Linked DNA regions of Homo sapiens: region 1 is linked to region 2. The links are contacts of gene promoters, found by promoter capture Hi-C in human tissues and cell types (Jung and others, 2019). All regions are on one chromosome and are shown on one strand. The core of a region is centred on a gene start or on the middle of the fragment in contact, and the rest is flanking DNA. Distances in the headings are between cores, read along the strand shown.

Region 1 (5,305 bases), core at 462-2,961, 64 kb before region 2:
AAAGATCATCACCCAGGTACACAGTCATCAAGTTATCTAAAGTCGAGATGACGGAAAGAATCTTAAGAGCTGTGAGGCAAAAGCATCAGGTAATTTATAAAGGAAAACCTATCAGATTACAGCGGACTTCACAGCAAAAACCCTACAAGCTAGAAGGGATTGGGGTCCTATCTTTAGCCTCCTGAAACAAAACAATTGTCAGCCAAGAATTTTGTATCCAGTGAAACTAAGCTTCATAAAGGAAGGAAAGATACAAATGCTGACAGAAGTTGCCACCACCAACCCAGCACTACAAGAACTGCTAAAAGGAGCTCTAAATCTTGAAAGAAATCCTCAAAATACACCAAAATAGAATCTCCTTAAAGCATAAATCTTACAGGCCCTATAAAACACATAACATAATGAAAAAAAATCCAAAGTATTCAGGCAACAAATAGCATGATGAATAGAAAAGTACCTCACATCTCAATACTAACATTGAATGTAAATGGTGTAAATGCTCCACTTAAAAGATACAGAATGGCAGAATGGATGAGAATTCACCAAGTATCTGCTGTCTTCAAGAGACTCACCTGACACATAAGGATTCACATAAACTTAAGATAAAGGAGTGGAAAAAGATATTCCATGCAAATGAACACCAAAAGTGAGCATAGCTATTCTTGGATCAGACAAAACAAACTTTAAAGCAACAGCAGTTAAAAAAGACAAAGAAGAACATTATATAATTATAAAAGGACTAGTGCAACAGGATAATATCACATTCCTAAGTATATATGCACCTAACCCTGGAGCTCCCAACTTTTTATTTTTTATTTTTTATTTTATTTTATTTTTTTGAGATGAAGTCTTGCTGTCACCCATGCTGGAGTGCAGTGGTGTGATCTCGGCTCACTACAACCTCCATCTCCCGGGTTCAAGTGATTCTCCTGCCTCAGCCTCCCGAGTAGCTGGGATTATAGGCAACTGCCACCACGCCCAGCTAATTTTTTGTAGTTTTGTAGAGACGGGGTTTCACTGTGTTAGCCAGGATGGTCTTGATCTCCTGACCTTGTGATCTGCCCATCTCGGCCTCCCAAAGTGCTGGGATTAAAGACATGAGCCACCGTGCCCAGCTGGAGCTCCCAAATTTTTAAAACCATTACTAATAGACCTAAGAAATGAGATAGAGAGCAACACAATAATAGTGGGGGAATGCAATTCAGTACACCACTGACAGCACTAGGCAGGTCATTAAGACAGAAAGTCAACAAAGAAACAATGCTCTTAAACTATACCCTAGAACAAATGGAATTAACAGATATTTACAGAACATTCTACCAACAACTGCAGTATATACATTGTTTTCTTCAGCACATGGAACATTCTCCAAGATAGACCATATGATAGGCCACAAACAAGTCTCAACAAATTTAAGAAATTGGAATTACATCAAGTACTTTCTCACACCACAGTGGAATTGGGAATCAATTCCAAAAGGAACCCTCAAAACCATGCAAATACATGGAAATTAAATGACCTGCACCTGAATGATCATTGTATCAACAATGAAATGAAGATGGAAATTTAAAGATTCTTTGAACTGAACAGTAATAGTGACACAATCTATCAGAACTCTGGGATACAGCAAAAGCAGTGCTAAGAGGAAAGTTTATAGCATTAAATGCCCACATCAAAAAGTCACAAAAAGTTACATCAAAAAATAGACAATCTAAGGTCACACCTCAGGGAACTATAGAAACAAAAACCAAACCCAAACCCAGCAGAAGAAAAGAAACAACTAAGATCAGAGCAGAACTAAATGAAATTAAAACAAACAGATTTCAGGATCGTGGCAGATGGGAGGCAGGTCTAGATTGCAGCTCCGGACAGAGCAGCATGCGGAGGCTTGCACTGAATTTTAGCTCCAGATTGACTGCAAGAACAAACCAGCAATCCTGAGAGGACCCACAGACCTTCTGAAGAAAGCAGACTGCTCCTGCAGGACCCATGGAGACACTGCAAATACTGAGAGTGCCCCAACTGTGGAAGTGGGAAAGGGAGACCCTCCTCTCCCAAACACAACTCCTCAACTGGAGAAGCCGAAGATCTGTTGGCAGGAGAAGTTTCCAACTTTACCTGGAGCTAAATCAAGTTAGAGAACCGAGCCAAGTGAAATACAGGGGTAGAGGAAGCCACAGAAAGGCCCTGGGAGCTTGCTGGGTCCCCAAGCAGCTCATCCCTGCTGGCACCACAGGGATCCATCAGGAGGGTGGCCAGAGGAGCAGGGGGTGAAACTCCACGGGGTGAAACTCCACAGGGTGAAGGAATTCTTTGGCTGAACTTTGTAACCATTTGAACCAGGCGAGAAGCCTCCTTGCCAGAACTGGAGGAAGGGTGTGAATCCTGCTTGCAGACCTCACAGGCAGGGGAAGAACTAAAGTCCTTTTCTTTCGCAGCTGGGAGGCAGAAAGCCTTGGGCAAGTTTTCAAGCCCATCTTGCCCTCTGCTTAGAAATAGACTCAGGGCTATTGCTGTGGGGGCACAGTGGGAGTGAGACCAGCCCTTCAGTTTGTGTGGGAGCTGGGTGAGGCCTGTGACTGCTGGCTTTCCCCCACTTCCCTGACAACCTGCATCACTCAGCAGAGGTAGCCATAATCCTCTGAGGTACACAACTCCAGTGACCTGGGAATCTCACTCCCATCTCCCACAGCAGCTGCAGCAAGACCTGCCTGAGGAGAGTCTGAGCTTAGACATGCCTATCTCCAACCCACCCGATGGTCCTTCCCTATCCACCTTGGTAGGGAAAGACAAAGGGCATATAATCTTGGGAGTTCTAGGGCTTCACCCACTGCCAGTCCCTCTCCACACTACTACAGCTGATGCTTTCTGGAAAGCTTCACCTCCTGGCAGGAGGCCAACCAGCACAAAAATAGAGCATTAAACCACCAAAGCTAAGGACCCTCATGGAGTCCATTGCACACTCTGCCACCTCCATCAGAACAGGCACTGGTGGCTGAGACCCTTAGACAGTTCACATCACGGGACTCTGTGCAGACAACCCCCAGTACCAGCCCAGAGCCCAATAGACTAGCTGGGTGGCTAGACCCAGAAGAGAGATAACAATCACTGCAGTTCAGCTCACAGGAAGCCACATCCACAGGAAAAGGGGGAGAGTCTACAGCAAAGGAACACCCCATGGTACAAAAAAATCTGAACAGCAGCCTTCAGCCCTAGACCTTCCCTCTGACAGAGCCTACCCAAATGAGAAGGAACCAGAAAACCAACCCTGGTAATACGACAAAACAAGGCTTGTCAACGCCCCCTAAAAATCACATTAGTTCACCAGCAATGGATCCAAACCAAGAAGAAATCCCTGATTTACCTGAAAAAGAATTCCAGAGGTTAGTTATTAAGCTAATTAAGGAGGGACCAGAGAAAAGCGAAGCCCAATGCCAGGAAATCCAAAAAATGATATAGGAAGTGAAGGGAGAAATATTCAAGGAAATAGATAGCTTAAAGAAAAAACAATAAAAAATTAAGGAAACTTTGGACACATTTTTAGAAATGCAAAATGCTCTGGAAAGTCTCAGCAATAGAATTGAACAAGTAGAAGAAAGAAATTCAGAGCTTGAAGACAAGGTCTTCGAATTAACCCAATCCAACAAAGACAAAGAAAAAAGAATAAGAAAATATGAACAAAGCCTCCAAGAAGTCTGAGATTATGTCAAATAACCAAACCTAAGAATAATCAACATCCCTGAGGAAAAAGACAATTCTAAAAGCTTGGAAAACATATTTGGGAGAATAATCGAAGAAAACTTCCCCGGCCTTGCTAGAGACCTAGACATGCGATACAAGAAACACAAAGAACACCTGGGAAATTCATTGCACATTGTCATCAGGTTATCCAAAGTTAAGGTGAAGGAAATAATCTTAAGAGCTGTGAGACAGAAGCACCAGGTAGCCTATAAAGGAAAATCTATTAGATTAACAGCAGATTTCTCAGCAGAAACCCAACAAGCTAGAAGGGACTGGAGCCATATCTTTAGCCTCCTCAAACAAAACAATTATCAGCCAAGAATTTTGTATCCAGCGAAACTAAACATCATATATGAAGGAAATATACAGTCATTTTTAGACAAACAAATGCTGAGAGAATTTGCCATTACCAAGCCACCACTACAAGAACTGCTAAAAGGAGCTCTAAATCTTGAAACAAATCCTGGAAACACATCAAAACAGAGCCTCTTTAAAGCACAAATCACACAGGAACTATAAACAAAAATACAAATTAAAAAGCAAAAACAAAAAAACCCAAAGTACACAGGCAATAAAGAGCATGACGAATGCAACAGTACCTCACATTTCAATACTAACATTGAATGTAAATGGCCTAAATACAGAACCTCAGAATGGATAAGAACTCACCAACAAACTGTCTGCTGCCTTCAGGAGACTCACCTAACACATAAGGACTCACATAAACTTAAAGTAAAGGCGTGGAAAAAGGCAATTCATGCAAATGGACAACAAGAGCAAGCAGGGGTAACTATTCTTAGACAAAACAAACTAAAGCAACAGCAGTTAAAAGAGACAAAGAGGGACATTACATAACGGTAAAAGGCCTTGTCCAACAGGAAAATATCACAATCCTAAACATATATACGTACCTAACACTGGAGATCCCAAATTTATAAAACAATTACTAATAGACCTAAGAAATGAGATAGCAACACAATGGTAGTGGGGGATTTCAATACTCCACTGACAGCTCTAGACAGGTCATCAAGACAGAAAGTCAACGAGAAACAATGGATTTAAACTATACCTTGGAACAAATGAACTTAACAGATATATACAGAACATTTCATCCAACAACTGCAGAATATACATTCTATTCAACAACACATGGAACTTTCTCCAAGATAGACCATATGATAGGCCATAAAATGAGCTTTAATAAATTTAAGAAAATTGAAATTATATCAAGTACTCTTTCAGACCACAGTGGAATAAAACCAGAAATCAACTCCAAAAGGAACCTTCAAAACCATGCAAATATATGGAAATTAAATAACCTGTTCCTGAATAAGCACTGGGTCAAAAACAAAATCAAGATGGAAATTAATTCTTAAAACTGAATTACAATAATGACACAACCTATCAAAACCTCTGGGATACAGCTAAGGCGGTGCTAAGAGGAAAGTTCACAGCCCTAAATGCCTACATCAAAGTCTGAAAGAGCACAAACAGACAATCCCAAGTCACACTTCAAGGAACTAGAGAAACAAGAACAAGCCAAACCCAAACCCAAACCAAGCAG
Region 2 (4,819 bases), core at 1,175-3,674:
GACCAGAATGATGGCTCTAGTTAGGAGGCCTAACAACATCCCAAATCCTTTTTCACTGACTTTATCGCAATTTCCTCTGCTTAAGAGATTTTGAAACAAAAGAGTGCCCCTGCTCTTGGGTGCATAAAACCCTGCAGGTGAAAATGATGAGAAAAATTACTGGGCAAGGTATTAGGCAGGCACTGATTGTATCCTATTTAGAGCTCTGCAATTAAAAAAGTATATATAATACTGAGACTGGGTGCAGTAGCTCATGCTTGTAATCCCAGAACTTTGGGAGTCTGAAGCGGGAGGATTGCTTGAGCCTAGGAGTTCAGTCAGCCTGGGCAACATGGCAAAACCTCACCTCTACAAAAAATTAGGCCAGGCGCAGTGGCTTACGTGTGTAATTCCAGCACTTTGGGAGGCCGAGGTGGGCGGATCACGAGGTCAAGAGATCAAGACCATCCTGGCCAACATGGTGAAACCCCGTCTCTACTAAAAATACAAAATCATCTGGGCATGGTGGCACGTGCCTGTAGTCACAGCTACTCGGGAGGCTGAGGCAGGAGAATCGCTTGAACCTGGGAGGCAGAGGTTGCAGTGAGCTGAGATCACACCACTGCACTCCAGCCTGGCGACAGAGCAAGACTCCGCCTCAAAAGAAACAAATAAACAAAAATTAGTCAGGCATGGTGGTGTGCACCCGTAGTTCCAGCTACTTGAGAGGCTGAGAGGTGGGAGGATGGCTTTGGCCTGGGAGGTTGAGGCTGCAGTGAGCCATGATTGTGCCACTGCACTCCAGCCTGGGTGACAGAGTGAGATCTTGTCCTAACATATACATGTATATATACACACACACTGGTTTTAGCTAAATTGATTATAACTCAGGGACCGTGAGCTTAGGATGGACAGAGGTGCATAACATTGATTACTTTTGTTCCAATATTGACTTTTTTCTATATGAGTGATTCATTTAAATTTGGAGGGTGGAATAAATTGATATTAGTTTCCAGTCTAACTGGAATATCTGCAGCCAGAGGACAAAGTACAAGGACTTATCAGAGAGGAGACAATGAAGCTCCATGCTCTGGAAAAAGGAAACAAGAGGCTGAGGGAATGAGATAGCTTCTAAGGAGGGAGCTTACAAAGGCCCCTCCTCCCCTGGCTCTTGCCCCGTGGGCCAGGCTAATTTGCATTTCAATGAGGACTTAATACTACTGAAGATTTTATGAAACGCCTAAGCTTCTCAAATGTTTGTTACTTTTGTTACCCTAGCTGAAATCTGCAATTACCAGTATTTTTAAAAAATCCTAAAATGAAGAGAAGAGGCCTGTGGGTGTTCAGTCAAGGAGGGAGGGGTCAAGTCTCAGTCCAGGAACTACTCTGTGCTGGGAGAAGCAGCCAGATACGGCACAGGTCGCGGTAGCCGAGAAAGAAAGCGAGAGAAAGGGTGAGCCGGGGAGTCGCTGGGCCAGACTGAAGTGTGCCTGTGTAGAATAACTGGCAGGAGAGCTGCATTTTCTGACCCCGGGAGGTAAAAGACGACGCCGTCCTTGGCACTGAGTGCGGTGACCACCAAGAGGAGCAAAAGTCATGAGTCTCCGACCCCCAGGCCCCCGGCTCAGCTGCCTCCACTCCACCCTACTCTTCTCAGCCCCAGCCCAGAAAGCAGGCAGCGAGGCAGGTCTTTGAACCGGACCAGGTTCCTTCCCCAAACACCCGGATCCAGAGAGGGGCAGGAATTCCCTAGTCATTTTCCCCTGCTCCTCCCCACATCATCCGCCCGAGGGGCGGCAGATCCAGCGGAAGCTGTCCGTGGTGCTGACTCCTGCCTTTGGCTTGGCCGGACCCGCTGCCCGCTGAGCGCGCTGCAGCCAAGCAGGGGGCTCGTGTGGCGGGGCCACGGGAGGGTGAGGGTCCTCAGGTCCGCGACCAGCTCCAGGCTCTGCTGTTAAATCCCAGCCCGAGCCCTCTAGCGTCTCTGCCCTCCGCAACCTGGCCGCTAGGCAGGATCCAGCCTTTAAGAACGGGTCAGTCGTGCCTCTCTCAAGCCCCCAGCTGCATTGCAATCTCCCACCGCTACTTCCTTCCCCGCTCCTTCCCTCCTAAGACTGCACCGGCTCCTCCCGATAGCCTGACGCTTCGCGCCTCTCCTCCGCCCTCCTCCACTGTGCGCTCCTCCGGACCCTGACCCTCCAGGGGCCGTGCAAGCTCCTGCAGTAGAGATTCGTCCTCTTCGCTGCTCTGGCCAGGTTTGCCGGCCCCTCCTCCCGTTTCGGATTCCATCCTCCCCACACTGTCCTCTTCACTAGTTCTCTAAGCACCGAGCATGGCAGAGCGCGCTCCACCCCTATTTTCCATACATGGGAGCTGGAGTGGGGGGCGGAGCTGAGGGGAGGCGCTCCCAGTCCCTCTAAGAAGCTGCTAGCCCACTGGGAAACATTTGGATCCGTTCAGCTCCCGCGGAGAAGCGAGACCGGATCACCGACGTGGGCAGAGGACTACCGAGGGCCAGCAGAAATTCTGCCCCTTCTTCCCGCGAGTGCTTTCCCGCTCTCCAAACCCCACTCCCAGGTAGGATCGCGCTCCTGAGTCTGCCTGCGTGGACTGCGAGGACCGTAAATAGAGGCGGAAGCGTTTAAATAAACCGTATGTTCTAACCGTGCTTAGGTTTATTTTACAGAGGTGAGAGGACAACACTTTTTGCTACTTTTGCTGTTGTTCTGTGGCCGGTTATTCCCAAGGGAGGACTCAGGCGATGGGGGAGGGGCGCGGCTGGTGTAGGAGGTCGGATGGAGTATGGCAAGGGAAGTGACGGACTTTGATTACCTTTGAACAGGTGGCCATGGCCTCATCGACCACTCGGGGCCCCAGGGTTTCTGACTTATTTTCTGGGCTGCCGCCGGCGGTCACAACTCCCGCCAACCAGAGCGCAGAGGCCTCGGCGGGCAACGGGTCGGTGGCTGGCGCGGACGCTCCAGCCGTCACGCCCTTCCAGAGCCTGCAGCTGGTGCATCAGCTGAAGGGGCTGATCGTGCTGCTCTACAGCGTCGTGGTGGTCGTGGGGCTGGTGGGCAACTGCCTGCTGGTGCTGGTGATCGCGCGGGTGCGCCGGCTGCACAACGTGACGAACTTCCTCATCGGCAACCTGGCCTTGTCCGACGTGCTCATGTGCACCGCCTGCGTGCCGCTCACGCTGGCCTATGCCTTCGAGCCACGCGGCTGGGTGTTCGGCGGCGGCCTGTGCCACCTGGTCTTCTTCCTGCAGCCGGTCACCGTCTATGTGTCGGTGTTCACGCTCACCACCATCGCAGTGGACCGCTACGTCGTGCTGGTGCACCCGCTGAGGCGGCGCATCTCGCTGCGCCTCAGCGCCTACGCTGTGCTGGCCATCTGGGCGCTGTCCGCGGTGCTGGCGCTGCCCGCCGCCGTGCACACCTATCACGTGGAGCTCAAGCCGCACGACGTGCGCCTCTGCGAGGAGTTCTGGGGCTCCCAGGAGCGCCAGCGCCAGCTCTACGCCTGGGGGCTGCTGCTGGTCACCTACCTGCTCCCTCTGCTGGTCATCCTCCTGTCTTACGTCCGGGTGTCAGTGAAGCTCCGCAACCGCGTGGTGCCGGGCTGCGTGACCCAGAGCCAGGCCGACTGGGACCGCGCTCGGCGCCGGCGCACCTTCTGCTTGCTGGTGGTGATCGTGGTGGTGTTCGCCGTCTGCTGGCTGCCGCTGCACGTCTTCAACCTGCTGCGGGACCTCGACCCCCACGCCATCGACCCTTACGCCTTTGGGCTGGTGCAGCTGCTCTGCCACTGGCTCGCCATGAGTTCGGCCTGCTACAACCCCTTCATCTACGCCTGGCTGCACGACAGCTTCCGCGAGGAGCTGCGCAAACTGTTGGTCGCTTGGCCCCGCAAGATAGCCCCCCATGGCCAGAATATGACCGTCAGCGTGGTCATCTGATGCCACTTAGCCAGGCCTTGGTCAAGGAGCTCCACTTCAACTGGCCTCCTAGGGCACCACTCGAGGTCAATCTGGTGCTTATTCTCAGCACCAGAGCTAGCTAAGCCAACATAGGGCAACATTTCCAGCCCAGCCCTCTTGTCCGGCTGTCTGTCTTGTCCTTGTGTGTTTGTAAAATGTTAAGCGGGCTTTGGTGAGAGTCTTGCTCTTTGCTTGGGGGAGGCCAAAGAGAGGGAAGAGGATTTCTTATTTCTTCTTTATGCCCTTGAAGGACAAACAAAACTTTTTCTCCACGTTCAGAAAAGTATTTCAGAACCACGATTGCCTTCCTGGCGTCCCCTCCTCCTGCTCGTTGGTGAAATGAACAATATGAATGGGATTTAAAAGGAATGCATTGGGCTTGGTAAAGATTTTCAGTTTGCCTTTAGAAAAAGGACCCAGCTGAGAGTACCATGATATTGCTTAGTCCATTTGAACCCTTGCATTCCTAGAATTTCAGGTAAATATGTATTAAAACTCTACATCTAGGATTTCAGCATTTCCTGAGTAAGACCTTTATATGCCAAAAGGGTTTCGTTTTAAAACCACTTGAGTTTATAGTACAAAAACACCTACAAGCTCCCTTTAGAAAGGTCTTGCTATTGTTTCTCCCCTTTCCTCCCCAACTACTATTTAAAAATGATGAGACGAATTAGTCAATGAAGAGATAGATAAATAAAGAGGAAAAGGTCCAATTCACTTAAGAGGTCATTCAATTGTACCTAAGGACAGACATCCTCTGTGTATGTGTGTTTGTGTATGTGTGTGTATGTGTGGGTACACATTCAGTGTTTGCCACAAAGTGGGCACTCAAATATTTGGTTTTCTGAATACTCAATG

What was found. The method cuts DNA at HindIII sites, captures the fragments that hold promoters and counts their contacts. A contact is called where the count stands out against the background at its distance.
Region 1: a contact is called between a fragment that was not itself captured here and the fragment with the promoter of PRLHR in region 2, in 5 of the 25 tissues and cell types used here (dorsolateral prefrontal cortex, liver, spleen and 2 more).

The regions. Positions count from the first base shown.
Region 1 is chr10:118,656,093-118,661,397 of GRCh38, reverse strand. No RefSeq gene overlaps it. Among named protein-coding and RNA genes, the nearest start is that of PRLHR, 63 kb to the right of the region's middle. The HindIII fragment of the contact is 3,219 bases long and covers 102-3,320 here.
Region 2 is chr10:118,593,253-118,598,071 of GRCh38, reverse strand. PRLHR (prolactin releasing hormone receptor) reads left to right here and starts at 2,424. Exons shown (of 2, transcript NM_004248.3): 1 at 2,424-2,556; 2 at 2,822-4,819. The coding sequence starts at 2,828. The coding sequence ends at 3,940. RefSeq lists enhancers at 1,039-1,847, 1,848-2,656, 2,657-3,465. The HindIII fragment of the contact is 7,132 bases long and covers 1-4,819 here.